Linked DNA regions of Homo sapiens: region 2 is linked to region 1. The links are contacts of gene promoters, found by promoter capture Hi-C in blood cells and fetal thymus (Javierre and others, 2016). All regions are on one chromosome and are shown on one strand. Each heading gives the region's core, a stretch centred on a gene start or on the middle of the fragment in contact. The rest is flanking DNA. Distances are from core to core; before and after follow the strand shown. Region 1 holds the start of DSEL (dermatan sulfate epimerase like). Region 2 has its middle 57 kb from the start of LINC01912.

Region 1 (6,365 bases), core at 2,324-4,823:
CTTCAGAAACAAATACTTGTCCATTGGGGGCAAAAGTAAATGAGTTCTGATCTGGATGCTCATGTCCTGGGTTAAAACTTCTCCACCCATCAATCCAGGAATATGGCTGAAAATGAACTATGTCATACACAGCTCGTCCCCCCAGCTTCCCAGATTTAAAAGACACAAAGGTGTTGGTCTGTGTGTTTGGCAACCCAGCCCCATAAGTAACCACACCCCAGTTAGGGAATGTGTGTATTTTTGCAGTACCATAATCAGCAGGTGGCTGTGGTGTGAGCTGGGGATCATACCAGATGTATTCAGTGTGAAGAGTACTCCACCTTTGGGCAGTTGAAGGAACCATCGGTCCATCTTTAGGTCGGTGCTTTCTAATTTGCTGAGCTAACCAATTTCCAGCTCCATTCTTTAAGATGAACTTATCCAAGAAAACTAGCTGGCTTTCTGGACCATAAAACCAATTATAATTGGAATCTGCTATACCCACAGTTCTTTGGAAGCCAGGTAAAAGGGTGGCATAATAGAACCAAAAGTGCATCTTTAACCAGTTATTATCCAAGTTGTTGATATTAAAATGGCGCTGGGCCAGAAAAACATACTGTGTGACGGATTTAGCTGTGTAGCTTCCATAGGCCACACCTTCATCCAAAGAACCATCAACAATATGATTCAATAGAAACATTGTCTTTTCCATGACATCCACTACAGCCTGTTTCCATATATTTGCTTTAGATCCTTTATCTACTCCAGTCACCAAGGCCCCTGTGAGTAATGCTATCATATTAGTGGCTTGGTGGTTATGGAGAAGCTGTTTGCCCCATGAGCGGACCTTGGAATACTCGTACATTTCCTCAGTAATAACCCATATTTTTTCCAGGTATTTTTGTCTTCGATGATTATCTAATAAGTTATATAAAAAGTCAAAGGCAGTGGCAAAACCTGTTAAGGAATGGCCAATTGGAACCTCATCTCCTGGTGCATTCTCTACTAGCCAGTCTTTGTAGCCAACCATCCTGTCCATATATTCCAAGACAAATTCAAAGGCAACTTTGTCTTCTGGGCATAACAAACAGTACAATGCTAAAGGAGGCAGATTGTTACCATAAATTTCATTCCACTTGGCAGCAAAATCAGCATGCTTTGGTGGAGGTAGGTAGTATGTTGGGTTGGACAGCATAACTGTCACTGCACTTCTGATAGCTCTAAAAAGATGCAAATGGCTTGCACGAGACTTTTGTCTCATTGCTTGGATTTCTCCAGCATCAAAATATAAACTTGGATGAAGCATACTTTTCTTCAGCTTTTGGTTGGGTCTGAAATCTTGCACTTTCTGTGTTTTAAACTGATCTATATCATCTGTGAAAACTGCCCATTCGGAATAATTGCTCACAGATTCCTCAAAAGTAGAGAAAGCAAACATCAATAATGCTAAGAATAGTAAATGTCCTGTAAACATTAACGCCATGATCCATGGGGGAGCTCCTCCCTTAGGCATACATGTCAGATATGATGCTCAATGTGTTTCCCATCTGGTTAGTATAAAACATACAGTAAAGGCCTTGATAAGACAAAGACTGTAAATCTGATATGCTGTGAAATCCAGCTGACATTCAGTACATTTTAAGCAAGTGCAGTTGCCAAAAAGAGAAAACTTAAATTGTATATCTCTGTCCCTGGCACAGTTTTGCTTCCAGTAAAACTTTGAATAACGTTAAAATCTCTAATTTTTCCATAATACACAGGGAAGTGATACAGGTAAAAAACACTATGAATTTAGCATTTACCTCCTTTACTTAAATCTATTTAACACAAAGAGTTGGAACACACATTGTAAAAAAAGAGAAAAAGCACTCCAAAATTCAAATTAAGAGTCATTTCTAGCACAGAAAACCATCACTGGTGATAAGCTCACCACACATGTATGATGCATTTGTGTATGTTTGCCCAAAGAAGATGATGAAGTACTGACATTCTTCGAGTGAGTGGACTCAGTTGTCATTCCTCTCAACTTTTTATACTTCTTGTCTTGTGAATACGTTTTTCTTTCATTTATGAGAGAGAAACATCCTCAACAAGTGATCAAAGTCTTAGTTGGTTTTTAAAAATTCAAAATTCTTGCCTTCATTTCAAATATTTTTCAGGCTTACTTACTCATCAGCCTATTATGACAAAGAGAAATCATGTTCACATCTTCTTTTATCAGCTTCATGTGTACAAACATAAAAATGGAATATCTTCAGTCACCTAGATACTTCTCGTCCGATCATGAAGTAACCGCCAACGGGGAAAGAAAATTCCCCTTTCAGCAACAGTGAGGTCTCTCTTCTGCTCTTTTTTCATGACACTTTTCTGGGGATGGGGGACAAAATAAAAATTCTCTGAGGCTTCAGGTATGCTGAGAATGAATATAAACTGATGACTTAAACATTCTGCAATCACTTAATAGAAATTTTAGAATCACAGTAAAATCTCATATTATCTGCAACCTAAGCTAGGGCAAGTGATTTTTTTCTTATCCATTTACACGCACTTATTTGGAAACCAGTGACCGTCAGCAGAAGACAAGCAACTAACAATACAAAATATACAAGATAGAACTCTCCCGACAATATCTATAGTTTAACGCCACTAACGTGGCTTCAGTCACTTAAAAAATGTTTGTATTCAAATGCAGTTTACACAAAGATGAGTCCTGCTATCCTTGTTATTTCTTGTTCCCAAGGACCGAGGGACAAAAAACTGAAAGTTGAAAAGATCTTTTTTTTTTTTTTTTTTTTTAATTCCGGGGGAAGGTTTAGAGTTCATGGGATCAGAAGGTATCTTCCTAATGAGAACTACTCGGACCAGTCACTTTTCTCGGCGGGGTAACCGCGAATCGTGACCAGGCGCCAAGCCGAGGGGCGGGAGCTCCGCGCTCGGCGCTCACCTGTGGCCGAGTCCCTGTCCTCAGGTGGAGCCGCCAGAGGGAGCTCGGACCCCGGTGTCGAAAGACGCCTCTCCGTGCCCGTCCGCGGCTGGAAGAACCTAAGCAAGTTTCAGTCTTGGACAAGTCTCCCCTCTGTAGGAAACATTCAGGCTAGGAGTTTCCTGATCCGCCCCGCCTGTTGCATTTTTTCACTGGCGTCCTCCGACCCTGCCGCCCCCATTCTCCGCTCCCCGCTCTGGGGCTGAGTGAGGCAGGATGGCGAGAGACCCCTGAGCCACCAAGTCCGCTTACCTCAGGCAGATCCCGACGGGGGCTCGGCGCCGCACTGGGCCCCAAGGGAGACGGAGGTGGAGAGTTCCAGAAAACTGCTCTGCACGGCGGGCCAGGCTCCCGCGGGGCTCCGCAAGACCCCCGCGTCGTCTCCCGCGCTACGGCAGGCGCTGCCCCAGCTCGGTCTCCTCAGCCGCGCTCGGTCCCCGCGACCCGCACGGCCCGGACACGCCCGCCCTCAGGAAACGCCGGACGCTTGTGGGGGCAACCACGGACCGCAGGACAGAGACCCGCGGGCGGCGGGTTCTCTCGGTGGCGCCGTATCCAGAGCAGCGCCCGCGTGCCCAGGCGGTGATGTCGCCGCGGCCGAGGATCCTCTGTGCCAGCTCCGGCCGCGCAGCCCGGGGAGGGTGAGACGGCGACGCGGGCCGGCAAGCGGGGGCGGGGCGGAGGCAGGACGGGGCGGGGTTGAAGGCGGGGCTGAAGGCGGGGCCTCAGGGAAGGCGAGAGACAGCGACGCTGGCTGGCGGGCGTGGGGCGGGACGGAGACAGGACAGGGCGGGGTCAGAGGCGGGGCTTCGGGGAGGACGGGAGGAGCCGTGAGCAGGCCGGCGGCGGGCGGGGCGGGGCCGAAAGCAGGTGAGGCGGGGCCAAGCGCCCCGGGTTTCTAAGCGGAGGAAGCTCTAGGCGTTTGTGTTCTGGGCTTGCAGCGGTGGCCGCGCGCTCCCGGAGGAGTCGAGCTGGAGGAGGGGACAGTTTGGGAGTGCGAGAGTCTAAAGACGCTGCCAGGCTGGCGTTAAAACCTTTTGGTTATGGGAAGACGACAACTATATAATAGAGCCATAGTGGGGGCTGTGGGATTGACTCAAATGATGGGAGGAGCTGGAGTGGGAGGGGATAAGCCCTGGGACGACAGAAATCATCCTTTTGGAAAGAGCAAGGGCTGGGGAAGGAGGGAATGAGCACTCCCTTGGAACTGAGAGGCAGCCTGGCTGAGCTTGCTGTCCTTTGGAAAAGCAAAACCGAAATACCCAGATTAATATAGGAGGACAACTTCTGTAGCCCAGATGCTAACAAAGATCAAGGGAAAACAGAAAAGACTAATCAGCTTTACTGATGGAAAACAATTTCTCAGGCAGTATAAATAGGGGAAGCATGGGACAAACAAGTAGAAGGAGCCTCTTATTTAAAAATGGGACCTGGTATTCGGTAAAGACCTACATGCAGACAGGAGAAGGCAGTGTGCCCCGGCTACTACGACATGTGAGTGCAGTGCCAGGTCGTGGAAATCCTAGAGCAGGCTGGGACTCCTGTTGCACTCCACACATGGAGCTTCTCACAGATAGCTGAGATGACACTTTGGCATAAACCAACCCAAGCTCTGACCTCAAATGTAAAAAATAATAGCTTAGTAGTAATAAAAATACAGGGAAATATCAAGCTTCACAAATGAACAATTCCATTCTCAGTTGGGGATTAGTAACACATTCAGTCTCTTCATTTCCCATACTATTTTGGTAATATTTAATAAGATATATTTTAACATTTTAAAAATAAATGTCTTGCTTAGATCATTTGCTGCTGAAAATCAAACAGTAGACGACTGCTAGCAGAATAAATTTCAAATCATTTAACTTTGAGGTGAAATGTGGCCTCTAACTCCTCATCACTCTTCTGTTTTGGCCCCGTAGTAACCCCTAGCCCAGTCCAAATAGCCACACTTGCTTTTGCTTGGGTGCTTCAGTAACTATGCTTATTCCATTCTTTCCCTCACAGTGTCCTTTACCCAACCACCCCACTTACTAGTTAAAATTCTTCTGACTGTTGAAATTATCTGATCATCCAGGTCTCAACTCAGATGCTTACATTCTTCTGTAAATAACTCCTAAGTTTCCCTAGCCAGAATGTATTACTCCAGAACTATATCATTTGTACCTATATTCGGCCGTTTAGGTTGTTTATTTTCTGCTTTCTATTTCAACTGGTTGACTCCTGTACCCTATTCAAAACTCCTTCAAGTCATGAGTAGCACTCAAGTCCCCTTTGTAAGTACTATATCTGCTTTTGAAATGAGTTGAACCTCGAACAATTGGGCTGATACAGAGCCTCGTCTCCTCCACTGAGGTTTATTCCCAAACAAGGATCCTCTTCTGACACAACTTCCTGTAAAATCTGGATTGTGCCTCTACATGGCCCCTGATAGAGGAAGAGGACCCATGGCCTCCAACCACATTTATGAGAGAGTAGAGTTGGGGGAAACGGGGAGCTGACTCCAGAGATTCCTATCTGTTTGCAGAGGGGAGCCTAGAATTTAGGGTTAGTAAACACAGCTACTAGATGTACAGAACATTTCTCAGAACAAAGTGTGGGGCAGGGTTATTTCTATGGATTCAAAGTGTCTCATGATGCGAGGGCAAGGTGAGTCAGAGAGAATTAATGCGCGAACATCTGCCAGGCAAATATTCTTCCAATGTTGTTTTCAGATTTTGAAATATCAGTATGATCATTTTCACTTTAGAGAAGAATGAATTCAGGTACCGACATTGTGGCCTTTCAGCTCTGCCCCATGCATCTGTGCTGAAGCAGTGGGGATGCAGCTAGCCTCCCAGCATTCTCAGATGGGCTTTCAGACTAATTCATTTTGAACAGACATCTTTGCATAGTGGTAAAATGTGAATGCATTAAAATAAAACAAGAGCCACAACTGAACAATTCAAATCATTGGCAGAAAGGGTGGTAGGTAAATGGCACTGTCAAAAATGAAGAGAGTCTTGTTTTCTGTGAACTAAAAATGGATAGCTCCAATTATTGCTCCTTCCACACATGAAGATGGTACAAAGTTAGTTAATTATAAATAATGCATCCGACCATAGAAGGGATGAGCTATATGCTATGTTATTGTACATTAAAAACCTTTATGAGTGTGGCAAGAGACACATGTACCAACAGCTGCTAAATTCAGAATCCTGGAGCAGTATCTTATTTTAATGTAAGTGAAGAACAGTGCAGTCTATTGCTCTGGGGATTTCTCTCTATATAAAAGGATCTTAAATCTACATGAGATTTTACTCCGTGATTTCAAAGTACTTATGAAAATCTGTTTTCTTTATTTGCCTATCTTTCAACCTACCCACAACCACCTATCTTACAACAGAAACAATGCTTTCTAGAG
Region 2 (6,568 bases), core at 2,079-4,578, 690 kb after region 1:
CCGTTCCTTTTAAAAATTTTTTAATCCATGCAATCTGACTTTGAGAGCCATCTGCTATATATCCCCTTTCAATAAACCAAATATTAAGTTGAAGAAAATCTTTTTCTGGTAAGATCCAGATTTAACAGAGCAGGTAAACTAGGAATAAAAAAGACAAAATCTTCAAATGGTAGAGGGTGAGAAGGTCAGAGGAAGAAGATCTCAAAAGTAGTGCATCAGCAAAATAAAATATCTAAATGTAAGCAGTGCCTTGGAAAGTAGGAACTGTGGTTCTCTTGGAAACAAAGGGCTTGGACAAGTCTCCTTGAAGCTGGCTGAGGGCTGACAGAAAAAGAACAGACTGCTCAGAAAGACCAAATTTAGAGTCTTTTATAACAAGAGGACAGAGCACTTGAGCCATGAACACTGAAACAGGAGGCTCTCTCATTTTCCTTTCTGCCCAGGTAAAGGCACCTAGTAGTGCATGAGAAGAGATAAACAATTGTCATATAACCCTCCTATAGCTGATAAAAACATACAAGAAGAATGTGAAACCAAACAGATGAAATGTTTAACTAATTTTACCAAAAAGCTAAGAGAAATGAAAAATAACACAAATAACAAACAAAAACAAAAGCTCTCAGAGTTGAGAAAATCAGACAAGAAGAATTTGTTTAAAGGAAAACTGATATACTCAGAGAAAAATTATAAAATGAGAAATTTCAATATATCATAAGTGGAAACTAAAAAGCATATAAAGGACTATAAATCATGCTGCTATAAAGACACATGCACATGTATGTTTATTGCGGCATTATTCACAATAGCAAAGACTTGGAACCAACCCAAATGTCCAACAATGATAGACTGGATTAAGAAAATGTGGCACATATACACCATGGAATACTATGCAGCCATAAAAAATGATGAGTTCATGTCCTTTGTAGGGACATGGATGAAATTGGAAACCATCATTCTCAGTAAACTGTCGCAAGAACAAAAAACCAAACACCGCATATTCTCACTCATAGGTGGGAATTGAACAATGAGATCATATGGACACAGGAAGGGGAACATCACGCTCTGTGGACTGTTGTGGGGTGGGGGGAGGGGGGAGGGATAGCATTGGGAGATATACCTTATGCTAGATGATGAGTTAGTGGGTGCAGCACACCAGCATGGCACATGTATACGTATGTAACTAACCTGCACAATGTGCACATGTACCCTAAAACTTAAAGTATAATAAAAAAAATTAAAAAAATAAAAAATAAAAAGCATATAAAGACCAAACTTATAACACAAAAAGTGCGGTGATTAAAAGAGAATAGAAAAGTAGAGGAAATAAACATGAGCAAAAAATAAACGAAAAGCCTTCAGGGTGAAAATCGATGTAGAAGCTGGCCAAAGAAGGTTGTATTAGGACCGGCTACATGATCTGTGGGGCCCAATACGAAATGAAAATATGCGACCCTTGTTCACAAAGTAGGAAAAAATTACCGTTAAAGGTAATATAACATGAAGGTTTTATGATTTCTCTTGAGGTCTCTTTCTCAACCAGTGATGGTGTTTTTTATTTGCTACTTAATGTCATGCTCCCCTGGTCATGGGGGTTCTGGTGAGGTCAGTGCAGACTCTCACAGTGCCTGGCCTCTCTCACAGTGCCATCAGGCACCTTGTCGATAGTGGTTCATTGGGTGAGATCCCCCGCTTTGCAGCCGCTGAACCAATAAGCTTCCTAGATAGGTAGGGAAAATCCAACTTGGCATCACTTTTTCCCATAACCAGTCCTTCTAACTGGCAGCAGAGGGGTTAATGCAAGAGTATGCTACCTCCTTGCCAGACTCACTGGGTAACTTGGAAGGGTTGGCAAGAGGCTTACCCAGCCAGTCGCCTGTCCAATGCCCCATGGTGTTTCTGCTCCTGCCACACTCTGAGATCCAGAGATGCATGTGTCTGATGCTGACTTTCCCTGATCCTGCTCTGTCTGATCAGTCCCCTGCCAAATGCAGGGACCGCAGCAGTCACTGGTGTGTGGGGAGAGATGGCTGGGCTGTGCAGGGGGAACAGAAGGATGGAGAATCTGATGGCCAAGAACCCATCCCAGGGAGTCAACTGAGGCCTCAAGAGCCCTACACATTCTCCATTGTCTGGTCTGACTTCACTTATTCAATACATAGTAAAATATAGAATCATTAAGACATCAAGGACAGCCAAATGCCAAGCATGAAGTCCTTCTAAGCATGGGTTTCTGCACAATTGCATTCATTGGACACCCACGAAGCTGGTTCTAAATGGGATATTAGTAAGTGGAGTCCCCAAAACAGAAAAGCAGAGAAATAGGACACAATATGCACTTAAGAGAATAATTATCTAAAACTTTGCTGAAAATAATTGAGCCTACATACAAGAAGGCAGAATGTGTAAATGAGAAATCAGCCCATGATATTCAACAGTAAGACACGGACTCAGTAAATCTTCCCAAGTTTCTCCTAAGAGTAAGAAAATCAGATTGTCATCAGATTTCTGACAGCAACATTTTATGCCAGAAAGCAAGAAAATAATATTTACAAAATAGTCAAAGAAAGAGAAATGTAAGTCAAGGATTTTAGATTCAGCTAGGCTATCCTTCAATAATAAAGGGCACAATAAAATCAGTTATAAATATGCAAAATTTAAAGGAATATTTGTGACTGGCTACAATTCTATGATTTAGAATAAATGAAATAAATATTTCATGACCAGCCAATATGCTAGGCCACACAGGAATTTTTAAATTAACCCTGTCATCTTGTCAATGTTTGCTTTACTTATTTTGAGGCTATGCTATTAAGTATATAAAAGTTTAGAACTCTATCATCTTTGCACATTTAATATTTTATCATTTATTACTTTACCAATTTGCTAAATTGTATCAATTGTTAAAATATAAACATTGAAGTAAACATTTTTTAGAGTACTATGGAGCTCTGAGACTTTACGCTATGTCACAATTTTAGATGGACTGTGGTGTTACAGTGAGAATCTTCTTAATAACAGATTCCCACTCATTGGTGGAAACAAAAAAATAAAACGATTGAACTCATAGAGAAATATTTTTAAATGCTCTCTACTGCAAAAATTTTATATTTTATCATATTTCCATTAAACTTCTGAAGTACAGCACATAAGAAAAACATAATGCAAGTTAAACAATGGGTCTAAATCATAAGCAAAAGTCTCATAAATTATATTTATATCATTAAATTAAGGGACTTCGTTCTACACTAATTCTCCAAATGTATGTATACTCTCTCTGTGTATAGGTTTAAAATATTCAAGCATACCGTAAATAGATTCACACTTTTTAACATGTATTTGTTTTAGGAAAAATAATTCTGATTACTGTACAGGCTTCAAATACATGACTGGATTTTTAAAAAGAGTTTAAATCAAATAAATTACTCACTAATCATACTTCTAATGATTTCCTCATGGAGTGACATTTATAGAAAATGTCAAAACTATTAATTTGCCAAAAGAAAAATTAGTAATGCTTCTTAACTCGCTATACATTCATTATAAATCAAGCTGTTTTATGTTAATAAGAAAGGCCATCTACATTATATTTTAGACATGCAAGTAATTCCATAAGGCAATATGAGATTGGTTCTAGTGAGTAAAAATAATGAAAACAAAGGATCAACTTCATAATGTAACTATTTAACATTATACATTGCAATCTCCATCTTTAATTATAGCCTGAAAATTATTTTGAAATTCACACTTCTTTCAATTTAAAATAAAACATTTTAATAATCTACTATGTTTAAACTTTTCATTTTAAATAAGGGGGACTATTATATAACACAAAATGTTAAAGTTATTCTGTTTTCATGTTCAGTGAAGTATTGCATTTTTATATTTTCCTTAGTATATTTGGAAAAACAAGAAGTTCAGATGTATTAGGAAAATTAAGATATGTTATTACACAATTTTTATTTTTTTTAGTAAAAACTATGTCTTGATGGCTGTATTAGTCCATTTTGTGTTGCTATAAAGGAATATGTAAGGCAGGATTTATTTTGATCATAGTTCTTCGGGCTGTAAAAGAAGCATGGAACCAGCATTTGCTTCTGATGATGGCCCCAGGCTGCTTCCACTCATGGCAGAAGGTGAAGGGAAGCCAGCAGGTGTAGAGATCACATGGCCAGAGAGGGATCAAGGAAGATGGGAGGGGAGCAGTGGCAAGCTCTTTTTAAACAACTAACTCTTGAGAACTAATAGAGTGAAAACTCACTCACCCCCACCCAGGAGGGTATTAATCTCTTCGTGAGAGATTTGTTCCCATCACTCAACCATTAGGCCCCACCTCCAACACTGGGGATCAAATTCCAATATGAGGTTTGGGAAGACAAATATCCAGACTGTAGGAATGGCTATATATATTTTTTAAGCTAAATTGCTACAAAGAAACATACTTTTTAGTAATATGATACAACTTAGAATGTTCCAGTTAATTAAATATAAGTAGATGTAAAAAGTTTATTGCTTCAATATAATTAATCTTTCCTGAGGTGTTCCAGCCATCAAAATAAGTAGTAAAGCAGTATAGTAGGTAGAGATTTTGTTAATGGAATAAGAAACTAATTCATAAACAATATCATCTGTTTTATTTTAACATAATTATTCCCATCAAATTGAAACCATAACTTTTTCTCCTGATGGAAATTAAATGTTATAGGAAGTGATGTGGACATTACCATCACCCAATATCTGAATCTTTTCCTATGCATGGTCAGCAAACTTATTTGGCTCACTCATTCTTCCAATTATAAAAATAAACACCAAATACTCTTTTTCTTCATAACCCTCAACATCTAGCCCACACCAAATGAGGGGTCAGTGATGTGAAGAAGAAGGAAAGTTGTGAGAAATTCATTTTGGCTAGAGTGCTACAAGCACCACATTTCATGAATAGCAGGCAAGCTTAATGGAGTGGGACTGGTCTGGCTGTGATAGAATCAGGAAATGGCTTTAGATTTTCAAAATACTCTTATGTCTTCTTTTGATAAGAGTCTGTTCATGTCCTTTGCCCATTTTTTACTGGGATTACTTTTTTTTCTTGTTGACTTGTTCGAGTTACTAATTGATTCTAGACATTAGTCCTTTGTGAGATACATATTTGCAAATGTTTTCTCCCATTCTGGAGGTTGTTAACTTTTTTACTGTTTGCTTTGTGATGCAAAAGCTCTTCAGTTTTAGTCCCATCTGTCTATTTTTGTTTTGGTTGTATTTGATTTTGAGGTCTTAGTCATAAATTATTTGCCTAGGTCAATGTCCAGAAGAGATTTTCCTATATTTTTTCTAGGATTCTTACATAGTTTCAGGTCTTATAGTTACATTTAAGGCTTTCATTCATATTGAGTTAATTTTTACATGGTAGGAGGTAGGGGTTCAGTCTTGTTCTTCTGCATATGGCTAGACAGTTTTCCTACCACCACTTATTTAATAGGGAATCTTTTTGTCAATAGTATCAAAGATCAGTTGGTAATATGTATTTGGCTTTATTTCTGGGTTCTCTATTCCATTTCTACTGGGCATCTATTCAAAGGAAAAGAAATCATTTTATCAAAATGAAAACTGAATTTGTATGTTTATCACCAAAGTATTCCTAAGAGCAAAATCACGGAATCAAACTGAGTGTACATCAATGGTTGATTGGATGAAGAAAATGTGATATATATATATTTATTTATATATATTTATATATATATTCATATATATATATTTACATATATTTATATATATATTTATATATATATTTATATATATTTATATATATATATTTATATATATATTTATATATATATTTATATATATATTTATATATATATTTATATATATTTATATATATATATTTATATATATATTTATATATATTTATATATATATTTATATATATATTTATATATATATTTATATATATATATTTATATATATTTATATATATATTTTTATATATATTTATATATATATTTTTATATATATTTATATATATATTTTTATATATATATTTATATATATATTTTTATATATATATTTTTATATATATTTTTATATATATATTTTTATATATATATATACACACACATACACACACTATGGATACTATATAGCAACAAGAATAAGTGAAATACTGTCCTTCACAGCAACATAGATGGAGCTAGCGCCATTATCTTAAGTGAAATAACTCAGAAACAGAAAATCAAATACTGCAGGTTCTTACTTAAAAGTGAGCTAAATGATGGGTAATTATGGGCATAAAGATGGAAATAATATAAATTGGGGTCTCCAATGCGGGGAGGTGAAGGGGAAAGTGGCAGGGCATAGAGGGTTAATAAATTGCCTATTGGATACAATGGTCACAATTTGGATGATGGGTTCACTAGAAGTCCAAACCTCACCATTATGCAATATATTCATGTAACCAACCTGCACATGTACACCCTGAATCTAAAACAAAATTTAAAAAAACAGCAAATCAACAATGAAAATTATTATATGGTTTAACACATTCCCTGCCAGTGACTAGAGAAGATGCAAGGAA

What was found. The method cuts DNA at HindIII sites, captures the fragments that hold promoters and counts their contacts. A CHiCAGO score of 5 or more calls a contact.
Region 2: a contact is called between a fragment that was not itself captured here and the fragment with the promoter of DSEL in region 1, in 1 of 17 cell types (fetal thymus). The highest score is 5.1, in fetal thymus.

Annotation. Positions count from the first base shown.
Region 1 is chr18:67,513,147-67,519,511 of GRCh38, forward strand. It overlaps DSEL (dermatan sulfate epimerase like), which reads right to left and starts at 3,574. Exons shown (of 2, transcript NM_032160.3): 1 at 3,215-3,574; 2 at 1-2,346. The coding sequence starts at 1,462. It overlaps DSEL-AS1 (DSEL antisense RNA 1), which reads left to right and starts at 3,400. Exons shown (of 5, transcript NR_033921.1): 1 at 3,400-3,603. The HindIII fragment of the contact is 6,208 bases long and covers 1-4,632 here.
Region 2 is chr18:68,204,283-68,210,850 of GRCh38, forward strand. No RefSeq gene overlaps it. Among named protein-coding and RNA genes, the nearest start is that of LINC01912, 57 kb to the right of the region's middle. The HindIII fragment of the contact is 3,234 bases long and covers 1,712-4,945 here.